7 separate regions of the Homo sapiens genome follow, and regions 1, 2, 4, 5, 6 and 7 are each linked to region 3. Evidence: promoter capture Hi-C in 16 types of primary human blood cells and fetal thymus (Javierre and others, 2016). All regions are on one chromosome and are shown on one strand. The core of a region is centred on a gene start or on the middle of the fragment in contact, and the rest is flanking DNA. Distances in the headings are between cores, read along the strand shown.

The links. The method cuts DNA at HindIII sites, captures the fragments that hold promoters and counts their contacts. A CHiCAGO score of 5 or more calls a contact.
Region 1: a contact is called between a fragment that was not itself captured here and the fragment with the promoter of SLC27A3 in region 3, in 3 of 17 cell types (M0 macrophages, M1 macrophages and total B cells). The highest score is 7.9, in M0 macrophages.
Region 2: the fragment with the promoter of PGLYRP4 here is called in contact with the fragment with the promoter of SLC27A3 in region 3 in 1 of 17 cell types (neutrophils); the score reaches 6.9 in neutrophils.
Region 4: a contact is called between a fragment that was not itself captured here and the fragment with the promoter of SLC27A3 in region 3, in 1 of 17 cell types (naive CD8 T cells). The highest score is 5.0, in naive CD8 T cells.
Region 5: a fragment that was not itself captured here is called in contact with the fragment with the promoter of SLC27A3 in region 3 in 1 of 17 cell types (neutrophils); the score reaches 5.0 in neutrophils.
Region 6: a fragment that was not itself captured here is called in contact with the fragment with the promoter of SLC27A3 in region 3 in 1 of 17 cell types (naive B cells); the score reaches 5.1 in naive B cells.
Region 7: a fragment that was not itself captured here is called in contact with the fragment with the promoter of SLC27A3 in region 3 in 1 of 17 cell types (naive B cells); the score reaches 6.5 in naive B cells.

What each region holds. Positions count from the first base shown.
Region 1 is chr1:154,175,641-154,178,640 of GRCh38, reverse strand. TPM3 (tropomyosin 3) reads left to right here. Exons shown (of 10, transcript NM_152263.4): 3 at 2,393-2,526. Among named protein-coding and RNA genes, the nearest start is that of TPM3, 15 kb to the left of the region's middle. The HindIII fragment of the contact is 2,735 bases long and covers 226-2,960 here.
Region 2 is chr1:153,347,565-153,350,888 of GRCh38, reverse strand. PGLYRP4 (peptidoglycan recognition protein 4) reads left to right here and starts at 2,048. Exons shown (of 9, transcript NM_020393.4): 1 at 2,048-2,361; 2 at 2,911-3,005. The coding sequence starts at 2,957. The HindIII fragment of the contact is 10,086 bases long and covers 1-3,324 here.
Region 3 is chr1:153,774,013-153,777,446 of GRCh38, reverse strand. SLC27A3 (solute carrier family 27 member 3) reads right to left here and starts at 2,040. Exons shown (of 10, transcript NM_024330.4): 1 at 1,283-2,040; 2 at 720-929; 3 at 227-385. The coding sequence starts at 1,949. It overlaps INTS3 (integrator complex subunit 3), which reads right to left. Exons shown (of 30, transcript NM_023015.5): 30 at 2,639-3,434. RefSeq lists a silencer at 1,413-1,604 and an enhancer at 973-1,639. The HindIII fragment of the contact is 7,576 bases long and covers 1-3,434 here.
Region 4 is chr1:154,206,294-154,209,634 of GRCh38, reverse strand. LTAP1 (lipid transport auxiliary protein 1) reads left to right here. Exons shown (of 7, transcript NM_001098616.3): 7 at 1,987-2,915. The coding sequence ends at 2,182. CFAP141 (cilia and flagella associated protein 141) reads left to right here and starts at 3,302. Exons shown (of 4, transcript NM_001010979.3): 1 at 3,302-3,341. The coding sequence starts at 3,328. The HindIII fragment of the contact is 1,373 bases long and covers 1,090-2,462 here.
Region 5 is chr1:153,367,002-153,370,264 of GRCh38, reverse strand. No RefSeq gene overlaps it. Among named protein-coding and RNA genes, the nearest start is that of S100A12, 7.0 kb to the left of the region's middle. The HindIII fragment of the contact is 2,641 bases long and covers 375-3,015 here.
Region 6 is chr1:154,257,895-154,261,281 of GRCh38, reverse strand. It overlaps UBAP2L (ubiquitin associated protein 2 like), which reads right to left. Exons shown (of 27, transcript NM_014847.4): 21 at 2,252-2,305; 22 at 1,253-1,334; 23 at 173-390. It overlaps SNORA58B (small nucleolar RNA, H/ACA box 58B), which reads right to left and starts at 1,555; the gene lies at 1,420-1,555. The HindIII fragment of the contact is 872 bases long and covers 1,635-2,506 here.
Region 7 is chr1:154,234,575-154,237,665 of GRCh38, reverse strand. UBAP2L (ubiquitin associated protein 2 like) reads right to left here. Exons shown (of 27, transcript NM_014847.4): 5 at 2,907-3,075; 6 at 2,375-2,470; 7 at 1,055-1,100; 8 at 530-642. Among named protein-coding and RNA genes, the nearest start is that of UBAP2L, 15 kb to the right of the region's middle. The HindIII fragment of the contact is 7,636 bases long and covers 1-3,091 here.

The sequences.
Region 1 (3,000 bases), core at 344-2,843, 400 kb before region 3:
CTTGGTACCCATTGGTATTATTTGACCTGAAAGGGACAGGCACTGTGCATAGACTCATGAGGGAAAAGTCAGCTTGTCTTCCTTGTTCCTTTAAACAAAGTATCAGATCTTGATTCTGCAGGCTTTTGTTTCATTGTAAAGAGAACTGATCCTCTGTGCTAGGAGAAAAGAGAAAGGCAAGGTCCCATTCCCTACCACTCCACCCTGGAGGGGGTCTCTGAAGCTTTTTCTAGGACTCCCATCTCAGGTTCTGCTTTTGATACAGGCTTGTTCATGTGTGCATGCTCTTAGGAGGGCACCAAGATGTGTTTTCCCCCTCTCCCTTTTCAGCCTTGCTAAGAATTCTATTGTAAATGCTGATTTGTGGGAGAAACTGCCTGAGCCAGCTTGCTGTCATGGCAACTGTACACCCCCGCCCCATAGCCTGTTATCTTCTACTCCAGTTTGGGTAACTACTGGTGAGCTGCATGATGTCTTACATTTCATGAGCTTCCTCTAAATCTAGTTGTATTTTTCGTCTGAGGGGGGTAAGTCATTTTACTAGCAGTGTCTCCTAGGTCTTGCCTGATAGCCTGACTTGCTCTTGATCCATGGCCTTGTTGGGTTTGTGAGGAGAAATGTGTGTTGTTACAGAGAACATCTATTTTTCTGGAAGAGGCAGAAGCAGAGAATACTTGTCTTTGTGGTGTTTTGAGTAGTGTAGTTAGAGGCACAAATGGTTTCTTAATGATTTCAGCTTATGTTGACTTCTCGATTTTCTTTGCCTGGTGGCTAGATTGTAGCCCCAGCCCTCTGCTTCCCTTCCTAGTCTCTTCAGCTTCTCATGTTTGTATGTGGAAGTTTTTGTGCCAGTCCTGATGGTTAAAAAGGAGTCTTTTGGTCTATATTCTTCCTCATCGGAGCTAGTGGCCCAGGCTGTTTCTATAGCTGCACCAACTCCTGCCTGCCAGGAAGAAATCAGGGTAATAGAATTCAGGCACAATCTGGGCTATAGAAGAGAGATCGTGTTTACCAGGCACTTGGATAAGCATCTGAACTGGGTGGTGTGCGGGGCATATTAAATTCTTGTATACTGTTGCAGTCAGGGTACCTCCCACCAGTAAAGGTAGCGGGGAGGCAGTCATGGAAAGAGGTTTTCCTACCATTAGAATTTATCCATCCACCTGCAGGCTGCCTCCTTCTTTCCTTGTTTCTTAGAGAAAACCCATCCAGGATGGGTTTACTTGGACTCTAACCTATATACTTCATTGTGAGATGGAGGCCAGGGGGAAGATTGTCGCTGTATTAGAGGGTGAAGCTAAGGGGATGGCTGGAGGAATAGAAAGGAGAAAATTCAGAAATTTGGAGGAATGGTAGTGGGTGTGGTGGAAATGTTCTTTCTTTTTTGTAAAGCTATCAAAGCAGATAATTTTAGCCAGAAGCAGCTCCTTGTAGCCAACTTAAAAAAGGAGTACGGGGGCACAAGTTGAAGGGCTGGTGAGTAGGCATCCCAACAATATTCCATTCTTTTGCTTTCCAGTCTGGAAGGCTATTCTGGAAGACATTCCCTTGGCTAGTTATTCTTCTGATGTGTTAGGGTAAAGTGATCATAGGAATAACGGTTTGAGTTAAGCAGCAATTAATAGGTAATCCAGGATTCCCTCTTTTTTTTTTTTTTTTTTTGAAATGGAGTTTCACCGTGTTGCCCAGGCTGGAGTGTAGTGGCGCAATCTCAGCTCAGTACAACCTCTGCCTCCCGGGTTCAAGGGATTCTTCTGCCTCAGCCTCCCGAGTAGCTGGGACTAGAGGTACGCGCCACCACACCTGGCTAATTTTTGTATTTTTTATTAGAGTCAGGGTTTCACCATATTGGCCAGGCTGGTCTCAAATTCCTGACCTCATGATCCACCCGCCCCAGCCTCCCAGAATACTGGGATTACAGGCATGAGCCACCACACCCAGTCAGGATACCCTCTTTAAGAAACCTTGCTTTTTTTTTTTTTTTTTTCCTGCTTTATGAGACACTTGAAAGGTTACTGAGGATGAGACATGCCTCCAAGCCAGAGCTCAGGCAGAAGGAACCCTTCATTGACTTTCTTTTCTGACTCCAGTGTGTTGAGGAATTTGAACTGAGTCCAGGAAGTGGGTGGTACTAACTCACTGGGCTGGGCAAGGAACTGAGTTTTAAAACACTCTTCCTGTGGAACATATGGGAGTTCGTTGATGGGAAAGGGAGGAAATATATATATATAAAGTTATGTCTGCTAGATCTTTTAACAGCTGAGCTAAGACAAGTTCTACCCTGCGAGACTCTGGCTTTTTCATGGTAGTCAACCCTGATCTTAATGTCATAGTTATTTCTTCTTTTCTCCATGCCTCTGCTTCCCTTGTCCATTCTTTCCTTCAAATGCAGGCTGAGGCTGAGGTGGCCTCCTTGAACCGTAGGATCCAGCTGGTTGAAGAAGAGCTGGACCGTGCTCAGGAGCGCCTGGCCACTGCCCTGCAAAAGCTGGAAGAAGCTGAAAAAGCTGCTGATGAGAGTGAGAGGTGTGTAGGGAAGCCTGATGGAGTGTGGATTTTAAAAGTTCATAATAGTTCTGATCAAGATTTCCTTATAGACCTGTTTTCTAAATAGCAATTCTGGCTGCGTGTGATGGCTCACGCCTGTAATCCCAGCACTTTGGGACGCTGAGGCAGGAGGGTGGCTCAAGCCCAGGAAGTTGGGGCTACAGTGAGCTCTGATTGCGCCACTGCACTCCTGGGTGACAGAGAAAGACCCTGTGTCAATCAGTCAATAAAAATAAAATACTAACTCCATCACACAGGATCTCCTTTCTATTCTGCATATTCTGTCCCCTTGAAGACAGTAAGGGTAACTTAGATGTTGTGACCCTTTTGTAATTGGTATTTCCTTACAAATTGGCCTAATGATCCTTAAAATGGGATCACCAGTATGACTTCTACTTTCTGGATCATAAGCTTCTATTTGTGAGATTAATTTCTCTAAAACAGAGGTTCTCT
Region 2 (3,324 bases), core at 799-3,298, 430 kb after region 3:
AAGGGGTCTTGGGGTCCCCCAGTTTCCCCTGGGCCACTTTTTGAGAACCACTGCCTTAGGTACTTGAAGGTATGCATTATTTGAGGCAGGTCGGTGTGCTGGCTTGCTTTTCCTTTCCATTTCTTCTTTTGACACCTTTTAAAAGAGTGTCCTGTTTAAGTCTTTCTTTCTTTCTCTCTTTCTTTCTTTCTTTTTTCTTTCTTTCTTTCTTTCTTTCTTTCTCTCTTTCTTTCTTTCTTTTTTCTTTCTTTCTTTCCTTTCTTTCTTTCTTTCTCTCTCTCTCCCTCTCTCTCTCTCCCTCCCTCCCTCCCTCCCTTCCTTCCTTCTTTATCTGACAAATGCTTATTGAGTTTCTAACATGTGTCAGCATTATGCCAGACACTAAGCTAAACCCTGAGACTACAGAATAAAGTAAATTCCCACTTCTGTGAAATTCACAGCTGGAGGGAGGCTTAAGACAGAGGACAAAAAAATGTAAATATAAATAATGATAGTATTAAAGGCAGGTAAAGAGATAGACTTGGGAACTGCTCTTGAGGAGATTATAATTACAATTCATTCAGGTGCTAGAATGGAGAAGAGAGACTCTGAGCCTCTACCAGTCCCAACTAGTCACGGAGCCCTTTCCAAAGATGCCAGGCTGAAGTGGAGCCTCTGGGCGCAGGTGGGGAGCGAGGCTGGGCACTTGGGAAGGGTCTTGAGATGGTGGGAGGTGGGGCAGAGAGCACTGGGAGCCTGCTCTGGCAGCGTGGAGTGAGATGGGGCTGGGGGCCAGATAATTTAGGACTTAGGAGGTCCTCTCGGGATTCTGAGTTCACAGAATCAGAGAGGGACAACCCACACTGCTCTCTTCCTCCCTCCCGATGCCCTCGTCCCGGACAGCCCTCAGTCTGTTAGTCCTCAAGAATCTGTTGGTCTCTGGATGGGGCAGAGAATCTGTTGGTCCCCTTTGGCAGCCACCACCCAATCTCTTCTTGGGCTTCCCCTCCCCAAGCCGCTCCAAAAAGGGGAACCGAGTCTCCTCAAGTCCTTGGTGCCCCGGATGCAAGCCCAGAAACCTTCTCATTTTGAGAACTGTTCTACTTATTTAGGATGGGCGGCCAGCAAAAGGCATGGAGAAACAGCATGTTGCCAGGCTGGGGAAACTACCAGGGTCCCTACAGTGCTGGTCCCAGGCTGCAGTTCTTGGTCTCCTTCATCTCTGTCTCTGGCTCTGCCCCACATTCACCCTCACCCCAGGACAGAGCTCAGCAGCCCCTGCTCATCACACAGCTCCAGCCTGGGTCTGGGTGCATGACTGGGATGAATGCCAGGTAGACCTGGCGCATGCTCAATGGGCCCCATCCAGAGAGCGCTCCTGGGGAGCCCAGTCTGAGAGTGGGACTGCAGCTCACTGAGAGCAACTGTTCTGGATTCAGGGCACTTCCTAAGTGTCTAGGGAGGCTGCCCCACCCTCCGGGACATGAGAGGCTCTGCAGGTCCCCGTGGAGACTGCATCCTACTGCGTTCTTGGAAAGTGTCATGCAGAGTTTCCTCTGTGAAGACTCAAGGGCTGTAAGTCCAGGTTGCAGAATGTGGAATGAGATTAGGTGACAACTGGAACATGGCGAGGAGCTGGAGATTCTTGGTTTGTGGGAGGCTTTCTGTGGTAGGTGGCAGCTTGATGCCGACGGTGGGGAGTGGCAGGCGGGAGGATGATGGGCAGACATGTAAGCTATTGGGGCAGAATTAGGCATCGTGAGCTGTTTCCTGAGATTGTACCTCCCAGTTTCTCTCTGTCCATCCTGACCCTGCTCATGACCCTGGTAAAAGGTGGTGTTGGTGAGTGACTTCAATCCACAGTCTTCAGGCTCCTGGAGCAGAACTTCACAGGCAGGAAGTTTCTAGATGTTGCAGACACAACCCTCAGGCCCTGCAGGCTTTCCCAGGTTGGGGCTGAGGACGAGCTCTCGGGAGTGTTGGGCAATCTTGCCCTTTCCCAGGGAGGAGCTACCTGGGCTTATTCACAGGGCGGGTCCCCAGGTGCTCTCAGCCTGAGTCTGGTCCCACTTGCATTTCTCCAGGTGCTGTGAAAGGAGCTGGCTCAGAGCCTTGCCCTCTGTCTTCCCTTCTCCCCATCTTTTGTTAGGGATCCTGGGCTCTCTTCTCTCTGGGAAGCTAGAGCCCGAGTGCTCCATTCCCAGGGAGGGAGTGCCCTCTAGGGCTAGGGAGAGTGAAGGCTGGAGGAGAAGGCGCCAGTTGGTGAAGAAGGGCAGGGCCTGGAGGCCAAGTCTGGAAGGGAAGGAGCTGCTGGCCAATCAGGGGCAAGCTGACTGCACCCTGACCTGCTGGGCTGGGACAGCACAGGACCCACAGATATCTGTGAGTTGAGTATGTGTTTCTTCTTCAGAAGCCCTCTTCCAGCAAAGGGACTGGAATCCACCAGAAAGAGTGTTAAGGATTGGATTTCCTCTGCCCTAGAACTAGGAACCCCTCCTACTCCTATATCTCCCTCATCTGGCATATTCCCAGCTGGGAAGGGATTCTCTGCATAAGACCCATCCATATGAGTCTGGATTTCTCGGTTGTACCATTCTTGGATCTTACTTCCTTTGTCTGTAAAAATGGGGGTTAACAGTCTTACATGACAGGATTAGTGTGAGGACTAATTAAATAAGACTGCATGTGCAAGTGTGTACACAGCCTTGCACGCCGTGGGCACGTGATGAAATTGAGTTCCTCGGGTAATAATAGGACAGGGATGCTGAGCACCTGCTGTATGCTGGGGGCCCTGAGAAGACTGAAGCAGGTGCTGGCCCTCAGGAGGCCACAGGATGGTAGAGGAGGCAGATGGCACCCACTGCAGTCAGGGTTTGGGATGCTCTGCAGATTGAGAATGGTCATGTTAACAACTGTCAGCGTCTCTCTCAGGCTGCCATCCACACTCTCCAGATTGGTGTCCTGGGACCACGTGGGGATGCTGCCGTGGCTTCTTGTCTTCTCTGCTCTGGGTATCCAGGCCTGGGGTAAGTTTTCTTTCCCTGGGCCAAAAAGCAACCGAGAAGGGTGATCCTAAAGTCTCATAATAGGAATTAAAAAATACCTACTGTCCATCTGAGCCTGAGGAGTTCAAGGCTGCAGTGAGCCGAGATCCCACCACTGCACTCCAGCCTGAGTGACAGAGGAAGAACTTGTCTCAAAAACAAACAAACAACAACAAAAAAAACTACTCTCTCTTGGCCAGGGGTGGTGGCTTATGCTTGTAATCCCAGCACTTTGGGAGGCCTAGGTGGGCAGATCACGAGGTTAAGAGATCGAGACCATCCTGGCCAACATGGTGAAACC
Region 3 (3,434 bases), core at 791-3,290:
CCTTTGACCCTGCAGCCTGGAGTTATGTGGCTGTATGGCCCCCCTCACCGTTCCTCAGTCTGTAGGTCTAGGCAGGTGACATTGCCCTATTGTACAGAGCTCCTGGTGAGTAGGGCTCTGCCCCATCCGTCCTCTAGATTATCTACCCTGGAGGACTCACACCATAGTACGTGCTTAATAAATGTCTACTGGATGAATTAATGAAGGTGGGGTTGGGGAGACTGACCAATGCCCATGCAGCCCACGATGCCCAGCAGGGAACCGGACATGTGGTAGAGTGGGAGGGCGAGGTAGATCACATCTTCCTGGTGGACACCACACAGCTGATAGAAGCCCTGGCATTGCAGGATCTTCAGATGACTGATCCGAGCAGCCTTGGGGAGGCCTGTGGGGTGGCAGTTATGGGACGATCAGGGGAAGGGCAAACTCCAAGCTCTACCTATCTGTTTGCACCCCCGCTGGGTTTCCCACAGAAAGAGGCGGAGGCAGGACAGAAGCTGAGGACCGAGACCAGGCTGTCCTGGAAATATGGGTGGTCTGGGGGAGGTGGAGAAATGAGTAGGAGGTGAGGAGACTGGGGAGTGAAATGATGGGGAGAAAAAGGATGTGCCAATGAAATCAGCATCCTCTCTGGGGGCTTTGAAGGAGTGGTCTGGGAGCAGACCCCTGCCTTCCTCTGCCTTGGTTTCGGGGAGCTAAGTATGGTGCCCGGCCCTCACCCGTGGTGCCAGAGGTGAAGATGTACAGGCACGTGTCTGTTATGCTCTGGGGGGAAGAGAGGTATCCTGGCACTGGCCCATCCACTTCAGCGGACACTTCAGCCAGCAAATCGCTAATTCCAGCAGGGTGGGTTCCTGGGCCTGCAGCCCACAGGTGGAGCCCCATGGCTCTCAGGGCGGGCAGGTCCGGCTCCAGGGACTCCAGAAACTCTAGAAGGGTGGGAAAGCACAACGCCGGGGCCCTGGCTCTACCTAGAAGAGCCTATGACCCATGTCCCCTCCCTATCCCAGCCCACACTGCTCTTGGATGAGGGTGAAGGGTATGGACATTCCATCTTGGGTCTGAGGCCTGGAACTCGACTCCTTGGGGATCCTTGGGGCACCAAAGATTCAGCCTCATCCCTTCTCAAACCCGGAGACTCCTATCTCCACCCACTTTCGAACCCCAAGGGATAGTCGGCTTCTTCCCAGGCCCAGGGATGAGACCAAGCCTTTCTGTGGTCTCCGACACGCCCCCTTCTGTGGCTGGCCCCGCCTTAGTCAGTTCGGAGCTCCAGCCTTACCTGGCGCCAGCACCAGCGCGCGCGCGCCGCAGCTGCGGAGGCAGTGCAGCAGGGGGCCCCGGCGCAGGGCGGTGGGCACAAAGGCAGTGCGCAGGCCGGCCTTGGCCAGCCCGAACCAGAGCCACAGAAACTCTGGGCCAGCGGGGAGGAGCAGCGCCACAGTTGCTCCAGGTGACAGAGGGGCGGCGGCTCCTCCACCTCTGGCGGCACCGTCCCCTCCGGCAAACTCCGCGCCGCTTCCGGCCGCTGCATCTCCGGCTCCCGGCGCTGCCCGCTCGCCTTCTCCAGCGCTCCCCTCGCCGCTGTCGCCGCCGTCGGGTCCCCAGTCCCAGCCTAGCGCACGTAGGAAGGCGCGTGCAGCCCTGTTACTCTCGCGCTCCGCCTCTGAGTAGCTAAAGCGCCGCGAGCCGTGAATGAGAAAGGTGTGCGCGGCGCGCTGCTGGGCCAGTTCCGCGAGGCGCCAGGCCAGGCTGCAGCCCCCCTCGGGACCTTCCGGGTCGGCGGCAGCCGCGGCCAGGGCGCGAGCTCGAAGAGCCCTTTTGCAGCACAGAGCTCGCACCGCAAAGGCCAAGTCCGCCGGAAGCCAGCGCAACTGCGGCCAGAGGTGTAGCTTCAGCAGCAGCAGCGGTAGCAACAGCAGCAGGGGCAGCAGCAGGAGGGCAGCCATGGAGCCCGCTTCCTCTATCGGCACCGTCTGGTTCCAGCCGCTCGCAAACATCCCTGATCCTCCCTTCCGAAAACCTAGGGCCGCTCGTTCTAGCTGAGACTTCTCCTTCCAGGGAGCGCGCGTGCGCTGGCACACGCCCATTCCCACCCAGGCCCCCACCACTCCACACGGGCGGAGAGCAGAAACCCGGGAGGAGTGCGGGTGTGGGGCGGCCCCGGACTCCCAGCCCTCCCCCCACAGCCTACGCTCCGCCCTAGGCGCGCTCCCTCCCGGACTGCTCGCGGCTCGCACCCTACCAGGTCCTGGGCGGTGCTCGCGCCTTCCCTGAATCCCAGGGTTATGTCTGTCTTCTAAGTTGTTTCTCGGCTTGGGCGGTTTAGGCATCTGGCTAAGCCCTAGAGTCCAGGCCTGAGAGCCAGGGCGTTTGGATCGCAGTCCATCTTCCCCTCAATATTTCTCGTTTTCCCGTTAAGGGAAGGTACCATTGCTCTCTCCCAAAAGAATGAACTTGGCCCCTGGCCCATTTGGTTCTGCAAGTCCCGGCCTGCCAGCCGCAACCCCAGGGGATGGGTGGGGGCTGAGAGTTAAATAGGGGAAAGGTGGAAACCCAGACTGCCAGATTTCTGAGGGGTCACGACAGAGGCCCCTCCCTTTGGGCAAGGGTACAATAATTGGGGCCAGCCAGCAAATGCTCTCCATCCTGGTTTTAATTGGGACAGAGGAAACTGGGGAAGGAGAGAGGAAGGAAAAAGAAGCCTCCAGTGGTTTAGACTTTCAAAGGAAGCAACAGCAGTGATGAGGGAGGGGAGAACCTGGATTCTGTAAAAAGACAAATTTTCGGGGTGAAGAGGAGCAGCTCTGTGCAGTTCGCCCAAACTTCACTCCTCAGTCCACCTCCATTCTCCCTGGACAGCGGGGGAACAACAGCATAGCCAAGGAACTCTCCTCTGCTGGTTCACATGGCCCAGCAAGTGGCCACACTGTGGAAGGAAGAGCATCTCTGTCCCTCCCTGGTATCCAGACTTTATCTCCAGGTACAGTTGTCCCTGGAGACCAAGCTGGAGCATCCCTCCCGTCAAGCAGCGAGTCCTCCGGCCATTCTTGGTAGGCACACAGACTTCAACTGGAGGATGACAGACCTTTTGGAAGCATCTTGTTTCTTGAGAAATGAGTAAGGACAGGCCTCATCCTACGGGGGATGGTTCTGCATAGACAGATCAGTGCCTGGCTCCCACCTCCAGTGGCAGCAGGAAGGATGGGTAGTGGCCAAAGCCAAGTCCCTTCTGCTCTAGACAAAAGTGGGGGCAGAACAGGAAGGGAAAGGGGGATGTTCTGCGGTTACAAGTAGGGGTGCCAATCAAATCAAGACCAAGCTATACATGCACGGGGCAAATGCCAGCAGACACTCCAGCACAAAAGACATTCTGGCTTGTTTTATTGTCATTTAAAAACAACTTTTAAGACACGATTATCTCTGCCAAAAAA
Region 4 (3,341 bases), core at 527-3,026, 430 kb before region 3:
AGCCTGGGCAACAGAGCAAGACTCCATCTCGAAAAAAAATTAGCTGGGAGTGGTGGCGACCACCTACCTGTAGTCCCAGCTACTCAGGAGCTGAGGTGCGTGTACCACTTGTGCCTGGGAGGCAGAGGTTGCAGTGAGCCAAGATCATGCCACTGCCCTCTAACCTGGGCAACAGAGTGAGACACTGTCTCAAAAAAAAAAAAAAAAAAAACTGCTTAGAGCACTGATGAAAATGAACATGTAGAAAGGCTGGAAAAGGGCATTTGGTCTAGAAGTCAGCAGAAGCCTGTTCAAAATTCACTTTCTTTGAAAGATAAATACTAGATGATTCCAGTTATATGAGATACCTAGGTAGTCAAACTCAGAGACAGAAAGTAGAATGATGGTTGCAGGGGCTGGAGAGTGGGGGAAATAGGGAGTTGTTCACTGGGTATAGTTTCAGTTTTGCAAGATGAAAATGTGGAGGTTGGTTGCACAACACTGTGAATATACTTAACACTACTGAACCATACATTTAAAAATTCTTAAGATGGTAAATTTTATGTTACATGTATTTTACCACAATCTTTTTAAAAATTATTTCTGAAGGCCAGGCATGGTGGCTCACGGCTGTAATCCCAGCACTTTGGGAGGCTGAGGCGGGTGGATCACCTGAGGTCAGGAGTTCAAGACCAGCCTGGCCAACATGGTGAAACCCTGTCTCTACTAAAAATAGAAAAATTGGCTGGGCATTGTGGTATGCACCTGCAATCCCCAGCTACTCGGGAGGCCGAGACAGGTCGCTTCAACCTAGGAGGCAGAGGTTGCAGTGAGCCAAGATTGTGCCACTGCACTCCAGCCTGAGCAACAGAGAAAAAGACTCCATCTCAAAAACAAAAAATTATGTTTGATTTGTAGTTTCTAGGAATGTTCATTGGGTTTAGTGAAGAGTATAGGCTTTGAAATCTGACAAACTTAGGTTTGAATCCCAGGTCTGTCACTTAACTAGTTTTGTGACCTCATACAAGCTAATTATTGGACCCTTAGTTTCCTAATCTGCAAAACAAGGTGATACCTATATTGGGGATACCTGTCTCTGAAAAAAAAGCTTGAGCCAGAGGCAAGAACTCTGGGAAATTGGTTTCTCTGCTGCTAGTTGTTTTTGGTATGAGTAGGTGTGTGTCAGGGTACCCAAACAGGGCCTTTATTCTGTCACCCAGGCTGGAGTGCTGCTACTTTTTTAGGGTGTGTGTGAGAGAGAGAGACAGGGTCTCAGTCTGTCGCCCAGACTGGAGTGCAGTGGCACATTCATGGCTCACTGCAGCCTCGAATTCTGGGTTCAAGCGATCCTCCTGCCTCAGCCTCCTGAGGAACCAGGACTACAGGTGCTTGCCACCATACCTGGCTAATTTTTTGCAGAGATAGGGTCTCACTTTGTTTCCCAGACTGGTCTCAAACTCCCCTGGGCTCAAGCGATCTCTGGCCTCTGCCTCCTGAAGTGCTGGGATTACAGGTATAAGTGACCATGCCCAGCCTCTCTGCTACTTTTTTTTTTTTTGAGATGGAGTCTTGCTCTGTCACCCAGGCTGAAGTGCAGTGGCGCAATCTTGGCTTGCAACCTCTGCCTCCTGGGTTCAAGTGATTCTCTTGCCTCAGCCTCCCGAGTAGCTGGGATTACAGGCACCCGCCACCACTCCCAGCTAATTTTTGTATTTTTAGTAGAGACAGGGTTTCACCATGTTGGCCAGGCTGGTCTCGAACTCCTGACCTCAAACAATCCACCTGCCTGGGCCTCCCAAAGTGCTGGGATTACAGGCGTGAGCCACCGCGCTCAGCCTCTTGTATTTCTAAGCTACTAGATGGGGTTTTAGTAACTAGTTTACAAAATAGGACAGATAGGACACAAATAACTATTTGTGACTATTGCTGCATTTATGGCCTGGGATAAGCCCTGATTTCTTTGATTAGTCCTCATTCTGTCAATGACCTCCCCTCTCTGTTCTTCAGGGTTAAAGCACGAATTGGGAGCTCTCAGCGACATCACCAGTCAGCAGCCAAAGACCTAACTCAGTCCCCTGAGGTCTCCCCAACAACCATCCAGGTGACATACCTCCCCTCCAGTCAGAAGAGTAAACGTGCCAAGCACTTCCTTGAATTGAAGAGCTTTAAGGATAACTATAACACATTGGAGAGTACTCTGTGACGGAGCTGAAGGACTCTTGCCGTAGATTAAGCCAGTCAGTTGCAATGTGCAAGACAGGCTGCTTGCCGGGCCGCCCTCGGAACATCTGGCCCAGCAGGCCCAGACTGTATCCATCCAAGTTCCCGTTGTATCCAGAGTTCTTAGAGCTTGTGTCTAAAGGGTAATTCCCCAACCCTTCCTTATGAGCATTTTTAGAACATTGGCTAAGACTATTTTCCCCCAGTAGCGCTTTTTTCTGGATTTGCATTCAGGTGTTATTCTTAATGTTTCTGTCAAAGCTTCTTAAAAATCTTCACTTGGTTTCAGCCATAGTTCACCTTCCCTGTTCCAGGTTTATTTAATTCCAAAGGTGAGAGTTGGAGTGAGATGTCTTCCATATCTATACCTTTGTGCACAGTTGAATGGGAACTGTTTGGGTTTAGGGCATCTTAGAGTTGATTGATGGAAAAAGCAGACAGGAACTGGTGGGAGGTCAAGTGGGGAAGTTGGTGAATGTGGAATAACTTACCTTTGTGCTCCACTTAAACCAGATGTGTTGCAGCTTTCCTGACATGCAAGGATCTACTTTAATTCCACACTCTCATTAATAAATTGAATAAAAGGGAATGTTTTGGCACCTGATATAATCTGCCAGGCTATGTGACAGTAGGAAGGAATGGTTTCCCCTAACAAGCCCAATGCACTGGTCTGACTTTATAAATTATTTAATAAAATGAACTATTATCAAATAAAACGTATGAATCAGTCCTTTATAGTTGTCTTTTAATAAAACAGGCATTTGATAATGTTATCTGCACATTTCTAACAGGGTATAGGGCATGAGGATTTGCCTCCAGAGAATTGGTGGGACTGTGTGCATACCCTGGACCTACGACCATACACATACTCCTTGGGACCCTAGCACAAGAAATCCTAAAATCAGGACTGTGGCCCTTGCTCATAGATGCCTGTGTCACCAACAGAAGGCTGCAGAACAAGGATTCTCTCAAGGTTTCTGGGGCAACAGGCCAGGTGGCCAATCAACTCCTAGGCCCAGGGTTATTGTTGGAGGTGTAAATGTTACTATGACTACTGAAACCTTGGTTACTGAACTAAACAGAGGAGCCTGTCAGTCTCCTCAGACTGTATCAAGCAAATCTATAGACATGTCTGTGGAAAA
Region 5 (3,263 bases), core at 446-2,945, 410 kb after region 3:
CAGGCAGTTAATTTTTAAAGGACTCCAGCTCTTTCTCCTTCTCAGGGGGAATTGGGTTTTCTTACATACAACTGAGTTTCTGCTTACACATTCTTTAATTTCTTTTAATTCCTGTTCCACCTCTGGATCTTCTTCAGCAGCAGGGGCAGGCCAGGTGGCAAAATTGAAGAATTTTAGAAAGGTTAGATACCCTGCTGGAGGTCAGGCAAGACAGATGTGAGGAAAAGTGGGAAAGGGGGCTTTTTACTGCAGGAGAGTGGGTTTGACTTTCGGCTTATTTACTGTGAAGCCATGTGGAGACAGTGTATGGGAAGCTGGGATTCAGGACAAGTGACAAATGATGAGTCCTGGGCACATGGTCTTGGGGTGAAGCTTTGCTGACCACCCCCATCAAAGGAAACAATTGCAGTTGTGTGGAAAGTGTGCGAGAAAGTAGAAGCCTGTAGATGGGGTTGAGGGGAGAGCCTGAAGATGGGGGTGAAGTGGGATTGGCAGAAAAGGAAGGAATGTGTGACCCAGGGAAGGGAGTCCTGGAATGGCCCAAGCCTGGAAGGCTTCTATCACCAAATGTGAATGAGAATGTGAGAGCATTTGGGGAAAGCCTTCCCTCACTGCATGACCTTGGCCAAATCACTTTGCCTCTCTGGGTCTGTGTTTTCTTTATTTTTGAAGAATTCAAAGGAATTTTAAACATCTATTTTGGAAAGTTTTAGACTAGGTGAATACTCAGGTGTCACCCAGTGTTAGTGCTCTGAGAGACCTCAGTTGGATAGAGGGGAACTTGGTGCAGGGTCTAGAAGGAGAACATCACTTAGTGAGAGGGTAGGAAGGAGGATGTCCCTTGGTGCTAAAGAGTAGCAGTCGAGAGTGTGAGGCTAGAAGTTATGCTTCTGTATTCAAATCCTAGCATTGCCACTTACTAACTGTGAGACCTTGAACAAGTTACTTAGAATCTTTAAACCTCAATTTCCCCATCAGTAGCATGGGGATAACCACAGCACCCCTCTCCCAGAGTTGGTGAGAGGATTAGGTCATCTCCTTTTTTTCCTTTTTTTATTTTTTTATTTTTTGAGATGGAGTCTTGCTCTGTCTCCCAGGCTGGAGTGCAGTGGCGCGATCTTGGCTCACTGCAAGCTCCGCCTCCCGGATTCACGCCATTCTCCTGTCTCAGCCTCCCGAGTAGATGGGTTTACAGGTGCCCGCCACCACACCAGGCTAATTTTTTTGTATTTTTAGTAGAGACGGGGTTTCACCGCGTTAGCCAGGATGGTCTCGATCTCCTGACCTCGTGATCTGCCTGCCTCGGCCTCCCAAAGTGCTGGGATTACAAGCGTAAGCCATGCGACTGGCCAAGATTAGGTCATCTCATAGCACATGGAAAGCACTTGGCACAGTATCTGATGCAGAGTAAGCACTCAACAAACATTAGCAATAACAGTAAGATAATAATTTAGACAGGAGGTAACGATTGTAGCTGACCCACCCTCTGCCACAGCACAATAGGTATAGATTATTTTAAACCAAAGCAGACTGAGGTTATATTTAGGGGTGGCTTGGATAGTTAAAGTTGACCAGTGTAAGATAAGGAACCAAGGGAAGTTATGCAATATCTTCCTCTAAAGGCCTTTGAACTAGACCAAGCTGTTCTGCAAACTAGGCCACTCCCTTGATGCACTTACCTTGATTTGGGACCACTTCTGATATATATAGTAGTATTAGAATCTGTTAAAAAAAAAAACAACAAAAAAACCAACAACTAACCGATGAGAGCAAAAGTCCAGCACATTTGCTATTGTGAAAACATTCACCAGCTGTAATTTTGTTTCCAAATAGCCCACTGAACCACAAATTGAACTTAAATCATGGCTAGAAAAATTTTAAGGGCTGCTAACCTTGGTCAAAATCCATCAGTCAGCGGCACCTAAGGACAATGACAAGGGCCCTTGACTTGGAATCAAATGAGCTTGGTTAGACTCCCAGCTCAACTGCTTGGCTCTGTGAGTTTGGGCGAATGGCTTCCCTTCTCTGAGCCTCAGTTTTTTCATGTATATAGTGTGCTGTTTGCACAAGTGATCTCCAGTCCCTTCATGAATACACAGAGACTAGACCCTGTGACTGTGGCTGGTGTCGTGGAACAAGCAAATGAACACAAGCACTGTTAGATCCACAGAGCCCAGGGATTGGCCCTGTTGCTTCTGGAGGCCCTGTCTCACTGTCACCATCTGTCCACCCCCAGAGGCCCTATTCTCCAGCCACTCTAGAACAGTCTCTAGTTTCTCCACGGCTTTGAAACTTCTTGGGTTTTGCTCCTGCTGTCCTCTTGTTCTCTTTGTCTGAAGTGCCTTTTCATCCCTTCATTCACAAACATTTTTTTGTGTCTGCTCTGTTGCAGACACTAGGCTACCTGGGCCCTTCTCTGGCTCTAGAACACCTGCTTATACACCATGGCCTGACTCAACCGTCACATCCTCCAGGGAGCTCACCTGTTCATATCTTCCTCATGTATTTCCATCAAGAGTAGACTTTAGGCCCCTTCCAATTTGGGGCTGACCTCCCTCTTCTGCTCACTGGCTGCTGCTGGAATGATGAGCCTGACAAAGCTGTCTGGGCAAAGGCATTACTGAGTGATAAAGGACACCAATAACACTCTTTTGGGTGCTATATGTGCAATACTTTGCCCTCAGGAGGATATTTCAGGCAGGCTTCCAGTACACCACAAGCCAAGCCATGCCAGCCTGTGCATCAGGCTCTTGGAGCTCAGGAGAAGGATCTGGGCTCAACAAAATGACTATCAGAAGCCCCTGATGTGAGAATGGCTAGGTCTCATCATTTTGACTTGGCCAACACAAGAAGCCTTTCAAGTTTTAAGATAAAGCAAACTAAAAATCTGGAGGGCAAGAGCCCTTACTTCCTATGTTTCTCTGATTTCTTTTATTGCCTAACACAGCACTGGGCACATGGAAGTGCAATTCTTGCCCTCTGAAAACTCAGCTTGGGCATTAGTCCAAGCAAGCTTTCCTTCTCTCTCCTTCCCTCTACCCCTGCCCCCCGGCTCCCCTCTACCCCCTCCCCCACACCACAGCCAATAAGACGGCAAAAAGTGCCTTCTGTACTCTCTGGGCATCTTGTGCTTATCATCTGCCTTTGCTTGTCTTTTGCCCACAACATTGTATTATAGAGAAAATATCTGGTAATTGTGCCCCCACTGGACTGAGGGCTCTGTGAAGGCAGGGAATCTAGCACACTATTTGACATAAGACCAG
Region 6 (3,387 bases), core at 821-3,320, 480 kb before region 3:
CACCAATTCCAGCCCCATTCCCCCACCACCCTGCATCAGGCCAAAAACAGGCCAGAGGTGGAAACTGTTCCTCCTCATCCATTATTAAAGTCATTGACCCTTAAAAGCAGCTAGGATAGTGTCCAGGGCTAGGATCCTTCACCACAAGGAGTGACCAAAGCCAGGTACTCACAGGGAACACAGCAGGCCCATACTGGAAGGTGCTGGGGAGGCCCGGGACCCCTGTATAGTATGGCAGGCTGGTGTAACTGTAGCCAGGAGGCAGCGCCGGGTTCAGGAATGTCTGCTGCGTGGTATGGTGAGTCTGCGTCTGGTTCTGTTGGGGTTGGGCCAAGGTTGTGGCCGGGGCTGGGGAGGAGGCATCCCCACGGCCGAACTTTGTGAGGTCACCTGTGACAGGAGAAGCTAAATGTACCTGCCTCTTTCACCCCAATACCAATACAGAATTACCTCTTCTGATTTCACATGATTCCAGGAGATCCTGTTCAAAGACTATTAAAGTTCAATTCCTTGAATTACATTTCTTAGTGGCTCCAATTATTGTTGCTCAGCATACACTTAGCACAGTTGCTGCAAGTCAAGGACTAATGTTGAATAACTGTGCAATGCTATGGCAGGAGGCTCTTGGAATAAGGCACCTGCACAATTTCTCTGCCCACTTGTGTTCTCTTTCATCTTCCCTCTTCTTCCCTCCCCTCTTCTCCTCCATGGGGAATACCCCATGCTGGACTTGAAGGACAACGATGGATCAGGGAAAACGGTAAGTCAATGAGGACAATGATAGGTCAGGTAAAAGAAGGAGTGGCAAGGCAGTGAGATTGCCACTGTGAGTAGTAGCATAAAGGGGCAGAGATGAGCAGAGAAGACCACCTCAACCACTGTATTTCCTGGAAAAAGCTAGCAAATGGCTTGAAACTAAGTCAAGATATCACTTTTTTTGGAGATGGGGTCTTGCTATGTTGCCCAGGCTGGTCTTGAACTCCTGGGCTCAAGCAATTCTCCCACCTTGGCCTCCCAAGTAGCTGAGACTACAAGTGTGTGCTACCATGCCTGGCTAAGATATCATCTAGAAATCACAGGGAGACAACACAAAGTGGGATGAATAGGAAAAGCCATGACATGCCCAACTTTAGCAGGATTTTGAATCTACCAATCCTGATTTATCACATCCCTTCTTGCTACCAATCAGGTGTCTGCCATCAATCCCAACACTATCTCCCTTTTTATTTATTTAGTCCCATCCCAATCCTACCAGAATAAGGGTTGCTGGCCAGGCTACCATCCCTCCCAGTCAGCGGAGTAGTGGGTGTGGGAAATGGGATGCTGTAGTAATCCTAGAAAAGAGGGGAAAAAAGAGCAGAGATTCAATGTCACTCATTCCCCAGCATGAGTACTATTTCCACGGAGGAAAAAACAGAAGAATGTGAGAGTTGTGCAATTTATCCAGTCACTAATTAAGCTGGCTAGAGTTAGCACAAACTCCACATTACTCTTGCATACACTGTCCCCCCTGCCTGGCCATGAGCACAGTCAGACAAGGTCTACGGGTATGCCCACTTGAGAATACATCAAAGTCCACGAGGACCAATATTTTCAACCCTCTAGGTGTCATCCCTATCAGTTTATACCAAGCTTATTCTACTGAGAAAACAGATCATTCGATAATTTAAAGTGTCTGGGACAAACAGAAAGCACCCTGAGTGCTCCAGAGTACTTTACTGGGCTATAGAATAGGTTAAAATGTATTTACTAAGATGCCACAACTCTGATTTAAAAAAAGAAAAAAAAAAGGCTGGGTGCGGCGGCTCATGCCTATAAGCTCAGCACTTAGGGAGGCAGAGGCGGGTGGATCATAAGGTCAGGAGTTCAAGACCAGCTTGGCCAAGATGGTGAAACCCCGCCTCTACTAAAAATACAAAAAAAATTAGCTGGGGGTGGTGGTGGGCACCTTTAATCCCAGCTACTCGGAAGGCTGAGGCAGACAATTGCTTTAACCCAGGCGGCGGAGGTTGCAATGAGCCAAGATCACACCACTGCACTCCAGCTTGAGCGACAGAGAAAGACTCTGTCTCAAAAAAAAAAGTTATCTTCTGTTGGAAACCCTCCCCCAAATCCCTATATTCTAATATGCCTTAAATCAGAGTGTATGGAGGGCTGGGATGGGAAAGAGCTATGTCTGTGACGGAGATAATTCTCCCAACACTAATTTTAAGACTACTTTCTTTTCCAAAGCTCTATCCCACATACTCACCAATGGAAATCTTGTCTGAAGCATCTGCAAGTCATCATAACCATATACTTGTGGCTGAAAGATACAGACATATAGCAATAACAGGAACTGGTCATGATGTTAGCAAAACAAGGAGCCAAGAGACAAGCTAATTCAACAGAACATTCATCCTCATTCTGGGTTAGAACAGGACACGGATTATTTCCTTCAATTTTATTTAAGGAAAAAGCAGTAAAGTACACAGAGATTAAATGATTCATGAAAGGTCTTGAAGCTTTCCTTGAGCTAAATACTACTGATTCTAGTAGGCTGGCTTCTTGATACCAATAGAGTAGACACAAAACATACACGAACAACCAGTTTTACTCTCTATTCTACAAGTCTCTGTCTCTTATACTCTTCAAAATCTGGCTTAAAAATAATCTCCTCTGGAAAGAATACTTCACTTTTCTCCAATGTCAGGGTTTTAAGGTAGTGACCACAAATTAAAAATGTGTAACTGTGTTATTTGGATGTGTCATCGGTATGAAATTTATCTAGACTTTGTCTATGAGGGCAGGAACAGGTATCTTCTAAAACGTTTCCATATATCCTTCATCTTAATAGGTACCAAATACTTGAAGGTCACAGAAGATACACTAGGGCAAAAAGCTACTAATGTCAGCCACTTATTCTCAAAGTCCCAGATTGAGTCAGGAAACTTTCCTCTAACCAGGCCAGACCAGCAAACACACTCAGAGTTAGGGATTTAATCAAATCAGAGAAAATAATTCTTGGGGCCAGGAGTAGTGGCTCAGGCCTATATATAACCCCAGTTATTTGAGAGGCTGAGGCAGGAGGACTGTCTGAACCTGGGATTTTGAGACCAGCCTAGGCAACATAGGAAGACCCTGTCTCTAAAAAAATTTTTAAAACTTAGCCAGGCATGGGGATGCACACCTGTAGTCCTAGCTACTTGGGGAGTCTGAGGTGAGAGGATTGCTTGAGCCCAGGAGTTCAAGGCTGCAGTGAGCTAGCTATGATCGTTCCACTGTACTCCAACCTGGGTAAAAGAGCAAGATCTGCCTCAAAAAATAAAATAATAGTCATAATTATCTAAGAAACCAAAAAGGATTCCAGATGAACATTCTGGCCTTTGGCTTCTGAGGCCCAGAAGC
Region 7 (3,091 bases), core at 107-2,606, 460 kb before region 3:
AAAGGGAAAAAAAGGATATTCTTATCTCAGTAACAGAAAACAAATAAATGGATAGTGTGGACTTTGATTCTAGGCCTTGTTCATCTTTACAAGCAGTGGCTTGATTAATTCTGGCTATCTTTTCAAAAGGCAACACTACCCTAACATAAACACTAGAAAATACACTTGGACCTAATAGCAGTGACATAGCATAGTTGAAAGGGCATGGACTTTCAGGGTCAAACAATGCTGAGTTCAAATACTAGCAAATTTATAACCTCTCTTTCGGCCTTAGTTTTGTCATCTGGAAAGTGATGATAAATAATGATTATTTCATACAATATCAAGCAGCATTAAGCGAAATAACATGTGTAATGTGCCCATATGCACGTTACATAAACAGTACACACAGTAATACAACTGCCAGCCCTTTCTCACCCTATCTCCATAACCAAACACTATTCTTCCACGTTTTAATGTAAGTATAATCAGAAAAAACTATTTCCTTAGATTCCCAGAGACAAGAAATGAATGATAAATGGTCACTCACTCGTCCCATCATCTGGTTCAAAGTGGCCAGTGTTGTTCCACGTATTGCCGCTGCTATTGCCATAGTTATCATCAGTATTGGCTGGCTCTGCATAATCAGCTGGGTTAAAGGTTCTGGAAAAAATAAAACTTAAGAGTCTCTGACCTCTAAGCAGCTTTGGCAAATATTAACTCAAAGAATCAAAATCTTGACTGCATCCTTCCTAGTACAAATCTGTCATGGCCCCATTCTATAATCCTGTGTGTCATCTACTTTTTCTCACTTATCACTCTACCCAAAATTTCATGGTATAATCTCAACATATATCTAAGATATTCTGAGAAAAGAACAGGTATATTGATTCAAATAAAGATATATAAAATATAGGTAATGATCCAGGTGGTAAAGGTTTATCCCTAAGAAATGAGCCCTAAGTCCCCATATCTTTCTGACCAGTCTAGAAATCATTCTGATCATTTTGGTTAAGGCTGCCTACAGTAATTTTTAAGGGAAAAAAAATTAAGACACTAGATCAATGAAACTTACCCCATTCCTTGAGCAGAAAACCTTCCTCCTCGCCTACCAGAGCCACCTAAAGAAAGAATGAGAAAAAGAGAAGAGAGATGTATTTTAGAAGTTGATATAAAACTTCCTTGCCAGGCAGGCACAGTGGCTCCCGGTGGTAATCCCAGCACTTTGAAAGGCTGAGGGCGGGCGGATTGGTTGCATCCAGAAGTTCGAGACCAGCCTAGGCAATAGAGCAAAACCCTATCTCTATAAAAAGTACAAAAATTTGCTGAGTGTGGTGGCACACACCTATAGTCCCAGCTCCTTGAGGGGCTGAGGCAGGAGGATCACTTGAATCCAGGAGGCAGAGGCTACAGTGAGCTAAGACCGCACTACTGCACTCCAGCCTGGGTGACAGTGAAACCTTGCCTCAAAAATACAAAAAACTACCCTGCCAGCTGAGGCAGCTCTGGAATAAAAAGTGGTTGATACTATCAGATGTTCTTTCTCTCTGTCCCATGTTACACATCAGTAATAGAGTAGGACAATCATTACTGTTGAGAGATTTTTCTTTTGCTCTCAGACTACCATGTCCTCAAGCAAATACAATACTAGCAATAAAGACTAGAGGAAATGACATCTACCTTCTTTCTCACTCTCCCCTTCTGCAATCTCTAGTATATGCATGACACCTCAGGAATTAACTAACTAGACTTCATGTTAATTTGTTTTTAAACAAAGTAGACCCTGGAGCCAAGTGCTGTCTCTCACACCTATAACCTCAGCACTTGGAGAGGCCAAGCAGGAAGATCTCTTGAAGCCAGGAGTTTGAGACCACCCTGGGCAACATATTGAGACTCCATCTCTACAAAAGCATTTAAAAATTAGCGAGGCGGGCGCATCACTTTAGGTCAGGAGTTCGAGGCCAGCCTGGCCAATGTAGTGAAAGCCCATCTCTACTAAAAATACAAAAATTAGCTGGGCGTAGTGACGCACGCTTGTAATCCCAGCTACTTGGGAGACTGAGGCAGAAGAATCGCTTGAACCCGGGAGGCAGAGGTTGCAGTGAGCCAAGATCGCGCCACTGCACTCCAGCCTGGGTGACAGTGCGAGACTCCATCTCAAAAAAAATTAGCCAGGCATACTGGCGGCCACCTGTAGTCTTAGCTACTAGGGAGGCTGAGGCAGGAGGATCACTTGAGCCCAGGAGTCTGAGGCTGCAGTGAGCTATGACTGTGCCACTGCACTCCGGCCTGGGTGAGAGTGAGACTACCTCCAATAAAAAAAAAAAATAAAGCAGACCATTAATGAATAAAGAGTAACCTGCCCCCAATATCCATCCCCCAACAAACTGATCACCTCTGCCTCGGCCACGGCCCCTTCTGCCTCTTTCTGTTCCTCTTCCAGAAGGCCCTCCACTCTTGGTGCCATCCAATCCATTTTCCTGACCTCGAACTGAAATAAAAATAAAAATTAAAACAACAACAACAACAAAAAAACCAAACCACAGATGGCCAGAGCACAGTCAACAGGATATATACAAATATATAAATGGTATGTAATATGGTATTGGGAATTAAAAAAACAACGAAGAGAAAATGAGCTGGAAGGATGGGAACATGTTTCTCAGGGAATGGTAATGTGCCTTAATGGAGAGCTGCAAGTCAAATTTAACTTTATAAATGACTACAGGGTAATCTCATGCCAGACTGGTGGCAGTTGGTAGAAAAGGCCACATGCAAGAGATGTCAAGGTCTCAGAACAGACGACGGCAAGAAAAGCAAAAGGATAATATAATGGTTCCTAGGTCCTGACTAGCAGGGCCCTGGCACATCCCTAGAGTCTAGACATTACTGACCCACAGCTGGTTTTGATAAAGCCCCATGCATACACTCTCGTCCACGGCTGGCACCTCTCCCCCGTCTTGGTGGCCCACCACGTCGCCGACTATAGTCTCTGTCCCGGTCTCGATTTTCTTTGCCTTCCTCATTGGATTCCGTCTGGCCACCATCCTTCTGGCCTGAGACTCCCTTCTTCTTCCCGACCATCTCCCAGGAATGCTATAGAAGGGTAGAG